7 separate regions of the Homo sapiens genome follow, and regions 2, 3, 4, 5, 6 and 7 are each linked to region 1. Evidence: promoter capture Hi-C in human tissues and cell types (Jung and others, 2019). All regions are on one chromosome and are shown on one strand. The core of a region is centred on a gene start or on the middle of the fragment in contact, and the rest is flanking DNA. Distances in the headings are between cores, read along the strand shown.

Evidence for each region. Contacts are between HindIII fragments. The study calls those that stand out against the background at their distance.
Region 2: a contact is called between a fragment that was not itself captured here and the fragment with the promoter of NKX3-2 in region 1, in 1 of the 25 tissues and cell types used here (H1 embryonic stem cells).
Region 3: a fragment that was not itself captured here is called in contact with the fragment with the promoter of NKX3-2 in region 1 in 1 of the 25 tissues and cell types used here (H1 embryonic stem cells).
Region 4: a contact is called between a fragment that was not itself captured here and the fragment with the promoter of NKX3-2 in region 1, in 1 of the 25 tissues and cell types used here (lymphoblastoid cells).
Region 5: a fragment that was not itself captured here is called in contact with the fragment with the promoter of NKX3-2 in region 1 in 4 of the 25 tissues and cell types used here (H1 embryonic stem cells, aorta, heart right ventricle and 1 more).
Region 6: a fragment that was not itself captured here is called in contact with the fragment with the promoter of NKX3-2 in region 1 in 2 of the 25 tissues and cell types used here (H1 embryonic stem cells and lymphoblastoid cells).
Region 7: a contact is called between a fragment that was not itself captured here and the fragment with the promoter of NKX3-2 in region 1, in 3 of the 25 tissues and cell types used here (H1 embryonic stem cells, lymphoblastoid cells and mesendoderm cells).

The regions. Positions count from the first base shown.
Region 1 is chr4:13,543,097-13,545,796 of GRCh38, reverse strand. NKX3-2 (NK3 homeobox 2) reads left to right here and starts at 1,289. Exons shown (of 2, transcript NM_001189.4): 1 at 1,289-1,848. The coding sequence starts at 1,383. The HindIII fragment of the contact is 14,287 bases long and covers 1-2,700 here.
Region 2 is chr4:13,178,125-13,180,824 of GRCh38, reverse strand. No RefSeq gene overlaps it. Among named protein-coding and RNA genes, the nearest start is that of RAB28, 300 kb to the left of the region's middle. The HindIII fragment of the contact is 3,956 bases long and covers 1-2,700 here.
Region 3 is chr4:13,102,393-13,105,092 of GRCh38, reverse strand. No RefSeq gene overlaps it. Among named protein-coding and RNA genes, the nearest start is that of RAB28, 380 kb to the left of the region's middle. The HindIII fragment of the contact is 3,623 bases long and covers 1-2,700 here.
Region 4 is chr4:13,125,239-13,127,938 of GRCh38, reverse strand. No RefSeq gene overlaps it. Among named protein-coding and RNA genes, the nearest start is that of RAB28, 360 kb to the left of the region's middle. The HindIII fragment of the contact is 3,040 bases long and covers 1-2,700 here.
Region 5 is chr4:13,247,778-13,250,477 of GRCh38, reverse strand. No RefSeq gene overlaps it. Among named protein-coding and RNA genes, the nearest start is that of RAB28, 240 kb to the left of the region's middle. The HindIII fragment of the contact is 9,084 bases long and covers 1-2,700 here.
Region 6 is chr4:13,071,079-13,073,778 of GRCh38, reverse strand. No RefSeq gene overlaps it. Among named protein-coding and RNA genes, the nearest start is that of RAB28, 410 kb to the left of the region's middle. The HindIII fragment of the contact is 7,483 bases long and covers 1-2,700 here.
Region 7 is chr4:13,199,329-13,202,028 of GRCh38, reverse strand. No RefSeq gene overlaps it. Among named protein-coding and RNA genes, the nearest start is that of RAB28, 280 kb to the left of the region's middle. The HindIII fragment of the contact is 7,958 bases long and covers 1-2,700 here.

The sequences.
Region 1 (2,700 bases), core at 40-2,539:
TAATTTTATTCAACTCACAAGTAAGAGATATTTAAAAAAAACAAATTGAAAGTTTTTTTTTTCTTCCTGATGCAAAACTTAACAAACTCCAATTAAATTCAATATTGGTCTGCCAGGGAAACGACCATAAAATTTACAGAAATTCTCCCAAAGATGCCTTTCAATTCTTCTCCTGACTTTAGTTCTAACTATACCATTTTTTTATAATTCCTCTATAAAAATCGAATCAAATCAAAGACGACGAGGAAAGAAAAATATTTCTAGAGTGATCTTAATTAACTGATCATTTCAGCAAAGAGCATTAGCAATGAAGAAGCGGCGAAACTGTAGGGAGAAAAAAAAGGATGCATTTTGTTCTTCGTGTTTATAATCCTTCCTAGAGAACAGAAACTACGAGCATGATTTATGGAACTGCATTATCTTGGATTTTCTCCGCAGATTTGACTCAACTTAGTATCAGTGTTCTGTTAAAGCGCTGGAATAAGTGGATACATCTGCAGAGGTAAGAAACGTGGTTTGGGTCGGATGAGCCTCCTTGTTGCTGGAGGGTGCTTCGAGGACCAGGCTTAGGAGAGAAGGGGTTAAGTCAGACCCTGTCTTTAGCGGCGCAACGTGCCCAGTTTTGTCTGTTAAAGTCAACGTCGCCCAACTGGAGCCAGCCAATGGACGGCCGGGAGCGCCCGGGACAGCCCAGTGGAGGGGTGTGGCCTCAGGCTGTCACTCAGCAGTGAGGAATGACACCCGGGCGGGAGGGGGGTGGTACAGTGGAACGCAAGGGAAGGAAAGAGAAAAGAAACAGATAAAACCAGGGCAGGGGGTAAAAAAGTTCCCCGCGCCTCTCGGAATCCAGCGGCCGCGGCCGCGGCTACCGCCGCCGCCGCCGGGGGTGGGCTCCGGAAGAGCCTGCCCAGCAGGGAAGGGGAGGACGGGCCAGGAGCGAAATCCTGCAGGCGAGGAAGGGACAGACGCGCAAAGAAAAAGTGACTCGGGCTGTGCGCCCCGGCGGCGCTCGGGAGGGGACTGCTGCCACGGAGGGGCCCCCGCCAATCCTCCTTCACGTCCCCCGAGGGGGCAGACCCCAGCCCGCCCCTAAGGGCGAGAAGCGATGAGATAATCCAGCTGAGCTGCGAAAGGAGAGCGTCTGGCTCTGGATTCGGGGGGAGGGGGTCTCCGGGCGGGGTGGGCCTCTAAGGTGGGGGCGAGGGTCGGCGCTGATCCTGGGACGGAGTGGGGCGGGAGCTGCTGGGCCGCGCAGCAGTGGGCGGCGGCGGCCTCGCACACCCAGCTCACTCGCGCTGCGGCCGCCGGCGCTCTCTGTCCCGCTCGGAGCTGCTCGGCGCCCCAGCTGCCCGCCCCGCCGGCCGCTCCTGCCCGCGGCGCAGATGGCTGTGCGCGGCGCCAACACCTTGACGTCCTTCTCCATCCAGGCGATCCTCAACAAGAAAGAGGAGCGCGGCGGGCTGGCCGCGCCAGAGGGGCGCCCGGCGCCCGGGGGCACAGCGGCATCGGTGGCCGCGGCTCCCGCTGTCTGCTGTTGGCGGCTCTTTGGGGAGAGGGACGCGGGCGCGTTGGGGGGCGCCGAGGACTCTCTGCTGGCGTCTCCTGCCGGTACCAGAACAGCTGCGGGGCGGACTGCGGAGAGCCCGGAAGGCTGGGACTCGGACTCCGCGCTCAGCGAGGAGAACGAGAGCAGGCGGCGCTGCGCGGACGCGCGGGGGGCCAGCGGGGCCGGCCTTGCGGGGGGATCCTTGAGCCTCGGCCAGCCGGTCTGTGAGCTGGCCGCTTCCAAAGACCTAGAGGAGGAAGCCGCGGGCCGGAGCGACAGCGAGATGTCCGCCAGCGTCTCAGGTCTGCTGCGGCTTCGCGGGGATGGGGGCCGGGCTGAGGGGATGGACGCGGAGGGCAACCACGCCGAGTGGGGTGGTCGGCTTGAGCACCCTGCGCCCTGGGGCTCGGAGGCTGGCCAAATCCCGAAGTTCTGCGCTCTGGCGCGAGCTGCTCTATCACTTCGGGAACTGAGCCCGCGAGAGACCGGAGTAGCTCCTCAGAGCCCTACGTCCTGGGGTGAGGCCTGAGACATCCTGGGCCAATGTGCATTAGACTGGGTTGGGAGAACCGCTGCCCCTTGCGTTCGGGAGTTTTTGAGTTCGTCGCCAGTGCTTTCTGCCGTGTCTGTCCCCAAATCCCCAAAATCAGGGAAGCGGAAAAGTGAGGGGTTCAGAGACCTCAGGTAGCCAGTGACCTAGCTCTGGACCAGAGACCTGCCAGTTCAAGGTCCCAGGGCCGGGCCCCACAGTAGGTGGATAGGTGGTGAAGAACACCTCCGAGTGGGCCAGAGCTGAGAATCTGCAGAACTAGAGCTTTGGGGAAAGGGCTGGTTTGGCTTTCTCAGACCCCAGGTCTGGGAGAGCAGCCCTAGGCCGAAGATCCCGGATTGGGTCTTTAGTTCATCCTGGAGGCAGGAGAGAGGCCTCCTCAGCCGTGGCCTGTCCTGTCCTGTGGTCTGGAAGACCCGGGTGCCTGCCCTAGTTGGGTACAAGCTTCTGTAGGCCTCAAGCACAGGGGACCGCTGGACCTTTCTGCTGGAGTTCTTCGGAAGGGCGGGTACGAGACCGAGAAGCTGGTGTGGGATCAGGGTCCAAAAACTCGATGCAGGGGCAACCCTCCCTCTTTACTCTCCAGTCCATCCTCTCATCTAAG
Region 2 (2,700 bases), core at 89-2,588, 370 kb after region 1:
CCTCTTGGAAGACTCTTTGCAATGTAAATATTTTGCACACATGTATTCTGAAGTACACATGTAATTTGTGCTTCAAAATGAATGTGCCCAACATTTATCTTACTGACTTTTTTATTGAAGTGAGAGTCAGAAATGGAATCACCATGGCCAACTCTTGGAGTAATCATGACCCAGGTGGAGGAGTCACTCTTTCCCTCCTATAGACAATTCCCTTTTTTCTACCATCCAGGCATATCTGTTGTAGTACTTAAGGCAGTGGCACCCCAAAAAGCTATGTTCAAATCTTAGCCCCCAGTACCTGCAAATATGACCTTGTTTGAAAAAAGTGTCTTTGCAGATGTAATTAAGGATCTCAAGATATGATTATTCTGGATTAACTGAGTAGACTATAAATCCAGAGACGTGTCTTTATAAGAGACAGAAGAGGAGAAGGCATAGATACAGAGGAGAAGGCAAAGTGAAGATCCATGAGAAGATGGAAGCATGGACTGGATTTGTGCTTCCACAAGCTAAGGAACACCTGATAGCCCCAGAAGCAAGAAGAGACAAGGAAGAATCTCTCAGGATCTCCAGAAGGAACCAATCCTGCCAGCATCTCCATTTCAGACACCTGCTTTCAGAACTGTGAGGGAATAAGTTCCTGTTGTTTTCAGCCACTAAGTTATGGTAATTTGTTCTGGCTGCCACGGGAACTTAGGACACCTGTGCTCTCAGCAGCACTCTTACCACTACTGACTCTTGGGAAACCTGTTTTATTCATTTACTTTGCACTTACCATAGACTAGGCTCTGGGAGCATACATACCAATACAGGATGTCAGTGAATTTGAGGGGCTTATGCTCTGGAAATGACGGAAAAGGGAAATGGGCCTCTAATAGCCTTAATAAGCTGCATCAGACACCTGCTGATGCCTAAGCTAACCTGTGCCTTCACACCTCTGTGCCTTTCCTATGGAAGGATTTCTCAGCCTTGAAACTACTGATGTTTGGGAAAGATAAATTTTTTGTCTTGGGACTGTTCTGTGCATTGTAGGACACTTAGCAGCATCCGTGGCCTTTACTCACTAGGCACCAGTAGCAAGTCTATTCTTCTCTGTTGTAACCATGAAAAATGTATTCAGACCTTGCCAAATAGGTATCACCTGGGGGAGCAAGGCTGCTGTTGGTTGAGAACCACTGACCAATGGCATTCTCCGCTTGGAATGCCCTCACGTCATTGACCAGCTGGCAAACTCTTGAAGCCTTTCTTGATTCTCAAAGCTTGGTGCCTCTTCTCCTTCATGCCTGTGTCACTTTGTGAGCGTCAACTTGATTGGATTAAAGGATGCAAAGTATTGATCCTGGGTGTCTCTGTGAGGGTGTTGCCAAAGGAGATAAACATTTGAGTCAGTGGGCTGGGGAGGGCAGACCCACCCTTAATCTGATGAGCACCATTTAATCAGCTGCCAGCAAATATAAAGCACGCAGAAAAAATATGAAAAGGCCTAGCCTCCCAGCCTACATCTTTCTCCCATGCTGGATGCTTCCTGCCCTCGAACATTGGACTCCAAGTTCTTCAGTGGTGAGACTCGGACTGGTTCGCCTTGCTCCTCAAGCTTGCAGACAGCCTATTGTGGGACCTTGTGATCATGTAAGTTAATACTTAATACACTTCCATATATATATATATATATATATATCCTATTAGTTCTGTCTCTCTAGAGAATCCTAATACAGCAATGATCTTACTTTCTGCATCCTTCTGTCTGCACCTCTGCCTTCCTGCAGAACTTGAAGTTTTGCAAAAAGAGGTGTGTCTTTGCATCTCTGTTTTCCCCTACACTTAATATTTGTTGTAATAAGAATGAAAGACCTACCAGAGTCATACTGTGAGGCCCCAAAAGGAGACAGATGTTCAAGACCCAGCTACTGAGCACTTCATTACTAGAAAGGGCTTTGTCTCCAAACCTCAGTGTAGCCTCCTGAGGCACTGGACTGGGTCTTATGTGGACCACAAAGGCTTCTTTTGTGCCCCTGGCCTGAGGCCAGCAATTTGAGCAGCTTGGGCAGTTGGTGAGATCCCTTTTCCCTGAGCCAGCATTCCCTAAGCTTGTTCTGTGGCTCAGTAGCCCCTTGAGATGGTCCTTGAAAAAAAGGACGTTCATGGTTATAGACATTTAAAAAAACTTGCTTCCTAGATTTCCCTCTCAGAAATTTACACTGCATATTAGTAAAGAGTAAAGATTAAGATATTTGTTTCACATTACTTAGATCGATTTTCTAAACTTATTGGACCATGAAGCCTAAAGCACCTAAGAAATTTGTATGTCATAATATAAATCTTAGGAAATGTTAACTTATATCCACACCCTAATCTGATATGTCTAAGGCAGCAATCATACACTGACCCACATTGTTCTTAGATTTAAACTAACATCTAGAAATCAAGAGATTTTACATAAAAAATGTGTCCTGAGGCTTTAAATTCATTTCCCTTTTGGTATGAATTGGCTGGAACTGAATGGTGTCTGCTAAGTTGAAATGAGAAAAGTGTTCTCCAGGTCATCCAAATCCCCACCATTCCCTTTTATTTATCTCCTGACAGGTGCCTCTTATTACATACTATGCTCCCAGTTTTGCTGTAAGTAGAGGAGTACTGCTGTCTTGGCAATGGAGATAGAGGCTTGGAGGGTGTGTTTCAAGAAACAAGGAGAGCAGGCAT
Region 3 (2,700 bases), core at 114-2,613, 440 kb after region 1:
ATTTCCTAAACATGGCGATTGTATTGCAATAGACCAGACTTTCTTATTTAGGTAAACAAAGTGTCTGGTCCAGGATGCATGGTGCCATAATTATCTGGCACCAGGATCCTCCTGTCTTACCTCTTCATGCTTAGAATGCCACCTTACTGTCCATGATGACAAGAACAGCTCCAGGCACTATTTCTTTATTCCAGACAACAGTAAAGAAAAAGGGAAAAAGAAAGGGCTACCTCTTCATGTTGGGGACACTTCCAAGAAGCTGCCCATATTGGGGATACTTTTATTCATTGGTTAATAGTTGGTCACATGGTCATAATTACTTGCAAGAACTGGTGGAAAATGCATCTATGTCAGCAATGCACTGAGTAACTCTCAGATTTTGTATTTATAAGGAAGAAAAAACGACGAGATCTTAGGAAATAAAGAGCAGTGTTTTTCACAGGGGCACTTATATAGAACCAGCTTGTGAGTCCATATTTTTTGTAATCTACAAAACACAGGGATGACAAAGAGGTGGTGGCAAGTGACCTGAGTGATGGACATCATGTCAATGGCAGAATAACAATCAGGTATTATTTGTTTCATGGTTACTAATCATATGCTGATATCCAGCCTGGAAGTGAATAAATACTATTAAAAATTAATCATTTTGGTAATAAGATATCTCAAACACAGAGAAGGCCGAAATCTGTCATCTGATACTACTCAATTTTTTTAGATATTGCCATATTTGCCTCAGATATGTCTTTTGTCTTCATAGGAAATGGAAGTACCATCACCTTATCTGTCCCTTTTCCTTTTCGAGTGTTGAATCTTTACCAGTGATGAGGGCTAGTCACACTGAAATAGAGTTTATCTCACTCTCAGCACCTTGTAGGTACCACATGGTGACTGGGAGTAGCTTGGCTAATAGGGGACCAAAAAACAATGTTTTATCAGGTGTGATTACTGATCGTAGAAGACATAATCCAGTTAATGAAGCTTAGTTCTATTAAAAATATCTTTTTCAGTTTAAAAAACTAGAATATACACATAGTTGAAGGATATGACCTATAATTTAAAGAAAAATAAACATCTTTTTATATATAATAAATATATATATATATTTATTAAGTAATCTGCTTGACTACATATTTTACTTTTCTAAATCACTGCATATTGGATTTAATATTTTCTGTTTAAAAATAGTAATAACAGATCTTACAGTTCTAAGTGGCACAGTTTCACCCACCTGACTTAGGTCAGATTCTGCAGGAAGTAGACACTGAGACTCTGTGGTTCGCATGCAGGTGCTTCCCTGGGGAGTGTGAGGGGGTAGGGGAGGAAGAATTGAGCAGAAGGGAAAATTAGGCTGAAATGCAGTTGCAAAAAAGTTCTCAGCTCGTCTCACAGGGGCTCTGGAGCTGGGAGGCTGAGATGAGTTGTTCCCTTAAGGCCACTGTACCCTGGCAGAACCCAGTGATGAGACGCTGGAAGAGAGCTGTCCATGGGGAGGAGGTGTACCCTTGGTGGAGGGGGCGCTCTTCCACAAAGGCTGCGGGATCTCAGAGTTAATTCTTCTCCAACCTGAGGGCAGCATCTAGCAGCACATGGCCCTCTCCACTTCTGAGTGCGGCGCATTCCCAGTTCATATGCTTTAACCAACAAGGCTCTTTTTATATTCTGTTGTACTGTTGGCCAATTCTAAGTCAGCCAACTAACTCCAAAAACATGGATCATTTCATTTTCATTGAGCACATGTCAGTGTAATATTGTTTAAACTTCTTTGAATAGAAACCTGATAAATTCCAATTAAAAATAGATAAAGGAGATGAACTATTTATGACTGATTTTAAAACATTTTTTATTATTTGGTGGAAAACACTATTGTTTCTGGAATTCCTGAAACATCTTTAAAGGGGCAAGATTTTGAGACTCTGGTGTATTAGAAAGAGCCTATGTTGGAATCAGATGTACCTGAATTTGAATTTAGACTTCCGCAGTTACTAGCTATGTGACTTAGGCAAGTCATACAACCTCTCTGTGCTTCAATTTTCCAAACATAAAGCATCACTTCTTCCAAGTTTCCTTTGGACTCTGAGACCCTCTGATTTATGAGGAAATGTAGGCAGTGCCACCAGTAGAGTGAATCTAAAGACCATAGTAGGCCTGACCAATTTCCTGGCCGTCTGTCAATAGAATTAACTTATCATCGAAATTTCCTTCACGAAGAAACTCTCACACTAGCGGTGCCACTGGGAGTCTGTAGAATGTGACTTCATGTCCGGGCTGCCTTATGGCCAAGCCTGTCTTAGGAGAGGCTTAATTCTTTGGCTCAGCCTGAAGTAGGGAGCAAGAGGGAGACCTGAGAGGAGCACGAACAGGTGCCAGCAGCAGGAGGTGCAAGTTCAGAACCTGGGTCAGGACCACATTGCAAGCACAGGGATTTGTGTAATCGAGCTGCCATTTGCCCAGCACGCACTCACTCTGGTTGCCTCTATAGAGTGGCGCCCACACTCCATTGATGTGGGGGCATAGGAGACTTTAATTAAGACAGAGGGGCTGCCCACAGGGTTGGAGTCTGTTCAGCTTCTGAGCTCAGTAAGCATGACTCATCCCCCCATGGAGTTGGGGGTTGTCACTTGGAGACTTGAGTCCTTGCCATCAGGTTTCCTCACACATACACTCACCTTTTTTTTCTTTCCGTTTCTAACTGAGAGA
Region 4 (2,700 bases), core at 54-2,553, 420 kb after region 1:
CTGTTCCCCCTTAATTAAGCTGCAGCTTCTCTGCCTGCTGCCTGAGGTACCTGGAGGGCACCACTCAGACATTCTGATGAGGGCACGTGCAAACCTGGATGTGCAAGGGGATTAATTTCTAGCATCTCACAGGGAAACTCTCCACCGATGGAGGGTGAAAGTTGGTGGATAACAGCCCCCTCTTCTGTCCCTTGGGTCACAACTCTGAGGTGCTTTCTACACAGCTGCTCAGAGGGGACCTAGCAGAGTCTACCCAGGTGCTTTTATCTCTGTTGCTCTCCTTACAGCCCCACTAGCCAGGCACATTTCTTGTGATCACTTATCCAAATAAACTGCCTCCAAGGAAGCCCTTGTTTCAGGTTCTGCTTTCTGGAGGACTTGTGCCAAGTCAGCTCCATTTCTTATCTATGAAGTGGAAGCAATGATTACACTTCGCTCGTAGGACAAAGCACTGTTTGTTTAGGTAAATTTAGAACAGTGCCAGGCTCATAGTAAGCCTTCATTAAATATTAGTTATCATGATGAGAATCCATTATATTTGTATATGTGTTGTTGTTTGTGGAGCCTGTCCATACACATTATTTTATTTTAGCCTCATATTAACCCTGTGAAATAGATAATAATAATTATCCCTATTTTGCAGACAATGAAACTGAAAACCAGCTTAGGGAAATGACTTGGTCAAGGTTATGTGATTGAGAAGCGGAACAGCCAGGTCTGGTAGATGCCTCAAACCATAGAACACATGAGCTGAAGTGGAGCTGATGTTTTCACTGAATACACGATGACACAGGCACAGAGAGGTCAACTGATTTCTCAGGGTCACACAGCTCTTCAGCAAATATTCCGAGGCTAAGATCCTAGACTTTCAGGCTTCTAGTACAGAGCTTTGTTAGGGTGGGAAATTAATAGAGATAGAGCATGCTGTCTGGGTTTCAGTTGAATGCACAGATCAGAGATAATAATTCTGTTCTCCCATCCTCCTGCCTCAGTTTACATTATTTTTTCCTTGTTATTCTTGCTAAGCAGTGTATTCAAACTTTTATAAAAGGCAAAGAAATACCTGCTTTTGAAAGAGCAGTTTCCAATGACTCATTTAGGAGGAAATCTGCTTATGAACCAGGATATTGGAAGATTGAATAATTTGAACGATGTTTGTTTTTCTGACCTGGATTTAGCTCTTGTGAAGTTTTCTGCATCAATAGCTCAGGAGATTGAAATATTATTTTCTTTCCTTTATATTCCCCAGTGAAGGTCGCAGGGACTGACCTTCCATCACCCTGAGATGCCACAGCATGACTTGAAGGTGACCCAGACTGACCACATCTCGGGGTTTTTTGAGCCATTCAGTTTCCATATTCGTTTAGTCACTGGGCTTTTTATGTGTGATTTTTGGTGACCATGAAATTGAGAGATGAAGAGGCTTGCCTGCTGCCAAAGACTGTGTGGCGAAGGCTCCGTGTGAGTTCCCCTCGGTTTGCCAGCGCACTTTATTCCTAACTTTGGGCTTTCCTCCCTCTCTTGTCCTCAGCCTTCCCAAGCAGCACCAGCAATGCTCAACAAGGCCTAATTGATTTGCAAGGTCCAAGAGTCATGGGTTTTAGCAATTAGGCAGAACAACTGTCCCCTCATGTGACCAGAAGTATGTGTTAAAGTTGTTTTTTTTTGAAATCACTCTTTTATTTTTAAATACAGAAATAAGACAGAAAGAGTTAATAGTATGACCTCCACAAATCATTTCTTAATTTTTATAATGTAACAGCAAGTAAGCTTTACGTGAGGCTTACATGGAGCAGGCCCTCTTCTAAGCACTTTGTATATAACATATCATTTAGTCTTCACTACAACCCTACGAGGCAGTGTCTATCATCATCCTCAAAGTCTTCCTCATTATTGTTGTTGTTATTTAACAAAGAAATAAACCAATACACTAAAGCACATAAGGGTGCACTGACAAACCTAAGATCACACTCTAGTAAGTAAATGGTTGGGATTTGAACAGCCTGGCTCCAGAGCCCATGCTCTAAACCATTATCTAAAAAATTAGAAGGGAAAGGAATCATCACAGCCAACCCTCTTGTTCACTCATGTGGAAATTTACTCATGTAGCACAGACAGGGGAGTTAACGCTTCTAACATCACACAGCATGTTAATGGCTGCTTGATTCCAGTCTGAAGTTCTTTTGCCTTCTGCAGAGTGGACCTCTATCTGTGAAGTTTAGGGAGGAAACCTAATGCATTAGACACTGAGATTGAAGCAGCTATTAAATGACTTTTTATTCGAGGTAGGATAAGCAGCCTGCATAGAAAGGCAAGAAGGAGGTGGTGGCGCAAATGGGGAGTATGTGTGTGGGGGAAGGAGGATACTGAATTTAGAAATTGTGTTGCATTAGGCTCTGGCCATGTTCCAAATATTTTCATTCGTTATTATTATTTTTATGGGAAAAGGAACCTGCAACAGTTTAGGCTCGGCTATGTGCCTTCAGGCATTGGTTTGTCAAATTTGGATCCAATGCCAAGTCAGCACAGTGGGTGTTCATGGGTGGTGTGTTTATGTGTGTGTGTCCATGTGCTCAGGTGTTTGCGTGTGCCTTTCTCCGTGTGTGTCCGTGGTGTTGGCGTGAAAAGCAGTCCATCCTAGGACTTACTTGCTGTTTCTTACCTCCAGCCCACCTCCCTAATGTGTCAAGAATTATAAAT
Region 5 (2,700 bases), core at 197-2,696, 300 kb after region 1:
TCCAGCAATTACTCACTTGAGGAATCTAAGTTAAGTGTGGCATGTGTGGGATTGTGTGCATGTGTGTGTGTGCGTGTGCGTGTGTGTGCATGTGTGTGTGTATGTGTTCATTGGAATGTGTGGGGGTTTCTGGGACAACTTTTCTCTACTTTTATTTTTATCTGCCTTTCGTTTAGTCTCTGCCTTTGTCCCACTTTGATTTTAATTTTGGTCTCAGGCTTTTGTCATGGGAGTCTTTGCTTTATTGGTTCCTTTTCATCCTTTAGGTCTCAGTTCAAATGTTTCCTCTTTAGAGAGAAATTTTCTTTTCCCACTGATTAATAAACAAGTTTCTCCTGTTTCTATCATTCCATTTACTCTCTGCATTGCAGTTACAGCATTCTGTAATTATTCAGTTTGTTTATCTATTTACTTGTCTCCATCTCTGTATATAAAATCCACAGGAAGAAGAACCTTGTTGGTCTTATTCACTTTCTTTTATCTTGTGCCTTCCATAGGGCCTGACACATAGTAAATGCTTAGAAAATATGTACCAAATTAATTAATTGATTGATTCACTAAGGGAAGAAGGGACAAGAATACTAATGAGACTATGCAGAATTGATATGGAATTGCACGTATATGTATGGCTGGGCTAAGATTTGCAAGGGCAGAGGGGAGATTTAGGGCCAAATCAAGCAGGCCTTGTATACTCTGCCATGACCAGGATTGGGCTTTATTCTGGAGATAATGTGAATCTATGGAAGGACTTACATAAGAAAAGATGAAGTCAGTTTTATGTTTCAAAATGATCAATGTGTCTGGGGTGGTGAATGGATTAGAACAGAATAAGACATGCTGCAAAGGGACCTGTTTGGACACTGTTGAAGTTATCTGGGTAACAGATGATAAAACCCCTACTTAAGGCCAACAGCAGTAGAAGCAAAAAATATTTGAAAAACTTGAGATAGGAAAAACAAGTCTTGATTGAAAGTGGGCAATGAAGAAATTGGAATAAAAAAGAGTATAAAGAGCAGCCAGAAGCTTAAGTGGGTCAAACAGAGCAAAGAAACACTGACATAAAATAAGTCTGGTTTGGGTATCAGTGAAAGTGGTAGAATAAAGGCCTCTGAAAGTCCTCTCCTCCATAAAAGCAATAAGAACAAGGGCAACAATTTTCAGAATTAACTTTTTTAAAAAACTGTAGACATTAATAAAAGATTTGGGGAAAATTCAGGGAACATTTAAGAAAAGCAGCTGAATTTTGGTATAAAAACCTGATATGAACAGTGCAGTATTAATTTTTCCTATTCTCATCCCTTCATTTCCAGCTCCATGGTAACCTTGAAAACCAACAGACTATGACCACAGTAAAAACTCGAGACTTGGTTGCCACTAGAGGGGGCAAAAGAGGGTTGGAACTCTTTCAAAATCCTATTTCTGGAGAATTTGTTATTTTTTTTGACCTGCCTGGTGGTTCCCTGGAAGACCCCATTCTCAAAGTAGTCTTATTTAACTGATTCAGAGATCATCTAGTATGAATAGCTTTTTTCTTGGGGTCATTTATTGAAAACAATTAAGAGCATTTGTTTAGATTATGGCTGCCTGTGGTAGTGAATAATAGTTGGGGCAAATAATAGCTTAACAGGAAATGCTTGAAATTGATGTCCATAAAGGGCTCTGAAGAACTTTGACACATTCCTGAGAATCTAGAAGGCCATGTGCATGCTGTGGTATGTATGAACGTTCAGGGAATGCTTGAGAAGGCTCTAAGCTCTCACCAGTGTCTCACTTTGAGGCTTCACTTAGGGGAAACTGAAAATTAAAGCAGAGTAGTTAACTGTCTAGCTAAATGTTGAAGGCATGTTCAATATGCACGTAGAGCCATTTGTCAAAGACTTGGGGGCTTATTGATTCCAGGCACTTAAGGACATCTCTGTCCAATTGACAACTATGTTAACAAAGCAGAGACTTCTGTGTTGATACATGTAAAAGAATGCAGATTTTACAGCACTAGTTCAAAAAATTACTAAACAAACAACAGCAATAACAGTAAAAACAACAAACCCTGGTTGGGGGCAGGGGGTAGAATCCAGAATTGCCATATTACCTAAAATGTTCAGTTTTGACAGAAATTATGAGATATGCACAGAAACGAGAAAGTATGACTCTTACATAGGAAAAAGCAGTCACTAGAAACTGTCTTTGAGGAAGCTCAAATGTTGGACTTGCTAGATGAAGACTTTAAATCAGCTATTTAAAGTATATTCAAAGAGCTAAAGGAAAACATGTCTAAAGAAATAAAGGAGAGCTGAAGAATGAGTTTTCAACCAATTGAAAATATCAGTAAAGATAAAAATGATAAAAAGCAGCCAAACCAAAAACATGGAGTTGAAAAGTGCAATAACTGAAATAAAAAGTCACCGTGGGGGCACTTGAACAGGTGGGAGAAAGAATATACCAAGTTGAATGCAAGTAATTGAAATTATCTGGTCTGAGAAACAGAAAGGGAACACAGCAACAAAAAATGAAAGGAGCTGGATAGACCTGTGGCATACCATCAAGCATACCAATATACACATAATAGGAGTCTTCAAAGAGGAGGATGGGGAGAGAGAGGGGGAGAGAGGGAGGAAGAAGAAGAAGAAGGAGGAGGAGGAGGAGAGGGAGAAGAAGGAGGAGGAGAGGGAGGAGGAGGAGGAGAAGAAGAAGAAGAATGAG
Region 6 (2,700 bases), core at 85-2,584, 470 kb after region 1:
TAAACATTTATACACAGGTTTTTGTGTGGATATACGTTTTTATTTCTCTTAGGTGATTACTAAGGAGTAGAATTGCTAGGTCATATGTTAATTCTATGTTTAATGTTTTAAGGAAATGCCAAACTGTTTCCCAAAATGGCTCACAAGTCACAGATTTTAATTCTTCTTTGTCTTCTTATTACTCCTGCAAGTGAGAGGACAAAAAGGAAGAATGCAAATATGACTCTGAATTTGCTGGTGTAGATGGTTTCATTGTGGTATAGTTCATTAACTCAGTAACATAGGAGGAAGAACTGGTTTCAAAAATTGAGTGGGATGTTTGGTTTTGGAAGGCATGAAGTCATAGTTGGGTTCTTGAGGAGCCTCAGGTAGGATTTTTTCTTTTTCTTTCCTTTTCTTCTTTGAGATGAAGTCTTGCTCTGTCACCGAGGCTGCAGTGCAATGGCAAGATCTTGGCTCACTGCAACCTCTACCTTCTGGGTTCAAGTGATTCTCCTGCCTCGGCCTTTAGAATAGCTGGCAGTACAGACACGTGCCGCCATGCCCAGTTAATTTTTGTATTTTTAGTAGAGATGGGGTTTCACCATGTTGGCGACTGACATTGAACTTTTGACCTCAAGTGATCTGCCTGCCTCGGCCTCTGAAAGTGCTGGGATTACAAGAGTGAACCACCACGTCTGGCCTAGGTAGAGGTTTTTAGGAGTTAGTTGAACATTCAGGATTGGAGTTCAGGAAAAAAATCTAATCTGGAAATTGGATTATGAGGATAATCCAATCATTATCTGATATTTCTTTCTTAAATCACATTTGCTTTTCCAAATTCCTTCCTCTGTCTCCCCACACCTCTATTTATATTCTTCCTTTTTGAAGTCCATTCTTCAAGTTTCTCCAGCAATATAGTTTCTTCTTGGCTCATTAATAAATTTATCATATTCTTTTTTTAAATAACTGAGTACTGGTACAGTGATTTGTAGCTTTTGGTAGGAAAAATCTGGACGATAGGATAATAAACCAGGAAGATTCTGTGGCATGTGGGAAGTCGGGAGACACCAGTAGCACCCGATTTCTTCTGGTAGAATGAGCTCATTACCTCCTTTAAAAATTTGATAGCTTTTTGTTTGTTTGTTTAAAATTATTAAGACTGACAACATGATAGATGCTTGAAAACTATCCCCCATTTCAGCCTTATGATAGCTATGAGATGTCGGTATTTTTATGCATCTTACAGCAGGGATTCAGGTCTTTTTTTTGTCCCCTCATATATCCCAAGTGACTATAACAATGCCTGGCACATAGCAAGTGCTAAAAGAAGTTTTGTTGGAAGAGACACGGCTCCAAGAGGTAAACTTACTTGTTTGCCTCAAACTCCTAGGTGGTAGAGAAGAAAGCCAGCACCAGGTCATGTTAATTTTAAACTCTGGGCTGGGCGCAGTGGCTCACTCCTGTAATCCCAGCACTTTGGGGGGCCAAGGTGGGCGGATCACGAGGTCAGGAAATCGAGACCATCCTGGCTAACACGGTGAAACCCCGTCTCTACTAAAAATACAAAAATTAGCCGGGCGTGATGGCAAGCGCCTGTAGTCCCAGCTACTTGGGAGGCTGAGGCAGGAGAATGGCGTGAACCCTGGAGGCGGAGCTTGCAGTGAGCCGAGATGGCGCCACTGCTCTCTAGCCTGGGAGACAGAGCAAGACTCTGTCTCAAAAAAAAAAAAAAAAAAAAAAAAAAATTTCAAACTCTGTGCGTGTTACACGATTCCACATTACCTCCAGCTTCCTTATCACTCGAATGAGGGGAATATACAAGATCAGAGTTTCTGATGTTCAGTCTGCACAACTTGATTCATCTCTGGGTTCATCAAGGCTTTGCTCCAATAAGTCGAGGAATGCTGAGTGATTCAAAACTGATCAGTTTCTTTACTTTAGGGCTGCTCAAAGTCTTTCATATGTTAAGGTCCATCGTGAATCACTGAGGGGAACAAGAAGTATGTTTACAGGTTTCTCCCATATCCTCTATCCTTGTTCCTTGTGCACGTGTGCGTGTGTGTGTGCATGCGTGCATGTGTACATGTAGTGTCTTTTAAATATCTCCAAGGAATGCAGTTTTAGAGTAGATGGTCTCAATTTCCTGAGTTCGTTTTTGATTGATTTTCTTCTAGTCCTATAGTTTGTTGATTTGCATTGTGGCAAGAGAACAAATTAAGGTGAAATCCTATTACAGCAAATATGGTTGGAAAAATATTACTATAACAATAATATTTTAAAGACCTGGCCATAAGCCTAGAGTAATAGAGGCTTGCTGATTTCTCTAGAGTAGAAATCACTGCTCCAAATGAGTACAATAAATGCTTTTCTTCTGCTTCATTTTTACAATAGAGTGAAAAAAAATTCCCTAGAACCTTAGTATTTGTTGTTTACCCTTCCAACAAATATTCATTGACTGCCTCCCAAGCACTGCAGTTCCCCATGGGGAATACCAAGGCATTCCTGGCCGGGGATTCCAGATCTTCAGGTATTCACAATTTGTTGAGGTAGTGAGAAAAATGTAGAATCACAGAGTCAGTGGCAGAGCAAGTAATAAATTCTCCTCTGTACCAGACACACTGTACAATGTAAGAAATTATTGAAGACAACAAATGAAAAGCTACAACAAGATTGTTTAGACTTCAAGGGGAAATAGACGAGGTTATAAGCTTTCTGAGG
Region 7 (2,700 bases), core at 153-2,652, 340 kb after region 1:
TCCAAGGAGATCAATAAAACTCTCCCAAGTCAGACATTGTGCAGAAACATTCTGATTTCTCTCTTTTCCTCATTTTGCTGAACTTCCTCTTCTCCTAGGCCTTAAGGTTCATCTGCCCCGGTTTGCCTGACTTTAGCATCTCCCTGACGCTACAATAGGGTGTTTTGGGTTTTGTGAAAGGTTGGTGTGGCAGAAAGAGTTTTGAAGCTAGGTAATTTTGGTCATAGTTATGGCTTAGTCATTTCCTAGCTCTGTAGTTTTGAACAAGTTACTTAATTCTCTAGTTTAAAAAAAATTCTGTTGAAGAGAATTAATAATCCTGGCTTTGCTGGGTTGCTGTGTAGATGAAATGAGATAGCACATGAAGAGGCCAACACAAGGTAGGCACTCAGTGAATGCCACTTTTTTGCTTCCTGTGACATTGAAGGAAGGGTTAGAGTAAGAGGAAGGGGATGGTCAGATTTGTGTTTAGAGCCATCACTCTGACTGTGCCATCGTGTGCATTGGAGGGGTGTATGAGTCACCTGTCGCTGTGTAACAAATTAATTTAAACCCTTCAGTGGTTTAAAACAACACACATGCATTAGCTGACAGTTTCTATGGATCAGGAATCCAGGAATGACTTAGCTAAGTCCTCAGAGTTTCTCATGAGGCAGCAATCAAAGGGAAAGCTCAAGTGGGGAAGAACCGAAAACCCACTTCCTGGCTTGTGTAGTGGTTGTTGGGATTCAATTCTTTGTAGATTATTGGATTTCAGACCTTAGTTCCCTTTTGGCTTTCAGCTGAAAGCCACTCTCAGTTTCTTGCCACGTGAGCCTCTCCATAGGGCAGCTCAGACACTGCAGTTTGTTTTGTCAAAACCAGCAAGGAGGAGAGTATATCAGTAAGACAAAAGTCAGAATCTCGTGTACCCTATTCATGGAAGCAGTACTCCATCACATTTGCTATACTCTATTGGTTAGAAGCAAGTCACTCAAGGAGTTGAGCTTACACAAGGAGAGGCGATGTCACCAGGAGGTGGGAATCATTGGGGGCCATCTGAGAGCCTGTCCATTACTGAGAGTGTAAGTGAGAGATAGAGATGCCAAAGTTAGAAGACTGTTGAGCCTCCCAGGTAAGCAATGGCAGTGAGAACAAGGATGGTGACAGTCCGAGTAGAGAGAGAGGCACATATTGGTCATTCATTTAGGAGACAGATGAGATGGGAATAATAAAGTGAGGATAAAGGTAGCTCCCAGGTTGGTGGCTTACTCATCTGTGGATGAAAGGTGATGAGAATCTCTAAAGGGGAATTAAGAAGGTTGAGCAGTGTTTGGGAGGGGCAAAACGATGAGTTTAGTTTTAGTCCTATGTTTTAGAGACTACAGCTGTCATGTTTGTGGCAGGGCTGGAAAGCCTGGCAGTCACTCCTGTTCTAATGAAATGTTATGTGGAATCCCAGAGTATAAAACAATAAAGACTGGAGTTGTTCTGGTTGACTCTAGGATGGAGATCTGTGGGGTAAAGCCAGCTGAGGCCCTCTTCACCTCTGCAGCAGTTCCTTTGGAACCACATTGGTTTTGGATTTAAATATACTGACTTGGGGTTTTAGCTACTCCATACATCCTTTTTAAATCAATATGGTATAAACTGTTTTAAAATAGTACAGAGGCAAGGGAGGGTACTGGAAATTAATAAGCTTTTGTGCAAACTGCAAGTGTTGAGAATCTGTGTGTACAGAACAGACTTTTCCCTTCTCTAGGTAGAGCCCTGTAGCAAATAAGGCTCTATGTATATGACTTGAGATTACTTTATCTCTCCATTTCTCCTGTGATCCTAAGGAGACCATAGTTTTCTGAAAAGGAGGTTTGGAATCATTGCTTCTACCTACTAGACTCTGTGATCTGCCTACCCAGTTTTATGGTTAGTTTCTGAATTCACCTTTCGCATACTCTTCAGCTCTTCATGTAGCTCTAATGGGAAGTAATTATTATCTTATTATTTCAGTGTATCGTCAACTATTGCTACATAACTAGCAACATAAACTCTCATACAAAAATCAGCATTTATTTAACTTGCATGTCTGCAGGTCGACTGAAGGTTGGCTGAGCTAGATTGGTTTGGCTACTTGCAGATAAGCTACAGGTTGAGGTAAGGTCTGTTGCATGTATCTTTCAACCTCCTTGGATCAGTAGGACAGCCACATTGTATTTTTTTTTCATTGTGATGTTAAAAGCATGTGAAAGCACATATTGCTTAAGCACATTTTTTTTTTTTGAGACAGAGTCTCGCTCTGTCCCCCAGGCTAGAGTGCAGTGGCACGATCTCTGCTCACTGTAAGCTCCACCTCCTGGGTTCACGCCATTCTCCTGCCTCAGCCTCCCAAGTAGCTGGGACTACAGATGCCCGCCACCACACCCAGCTAATTTTTTGTAATTTTTAGTGTTTTTTATGTGTTAGCCAGGATGGTCTCGATCTCCTGATCTCGTGATCCACCCACCTTGGCCTCCCAAAGTGCTGGGATTACAGGCGTGAGCCACCACGCCCAGCCCTTAAGCACATTTTTAAGCCCCTGCTTGTGTCACATCTGCTAACATCCTGTTTATCAATAGAAAGTCACAAGTCTAAGTCCAAAGTCAAGGTGTGAAAGTACAGTCAGCCCTTTGTATCAGCAGCTTCAACCAAATCCGAATAGAAAATATGGTATTTGAGGGATGTGAA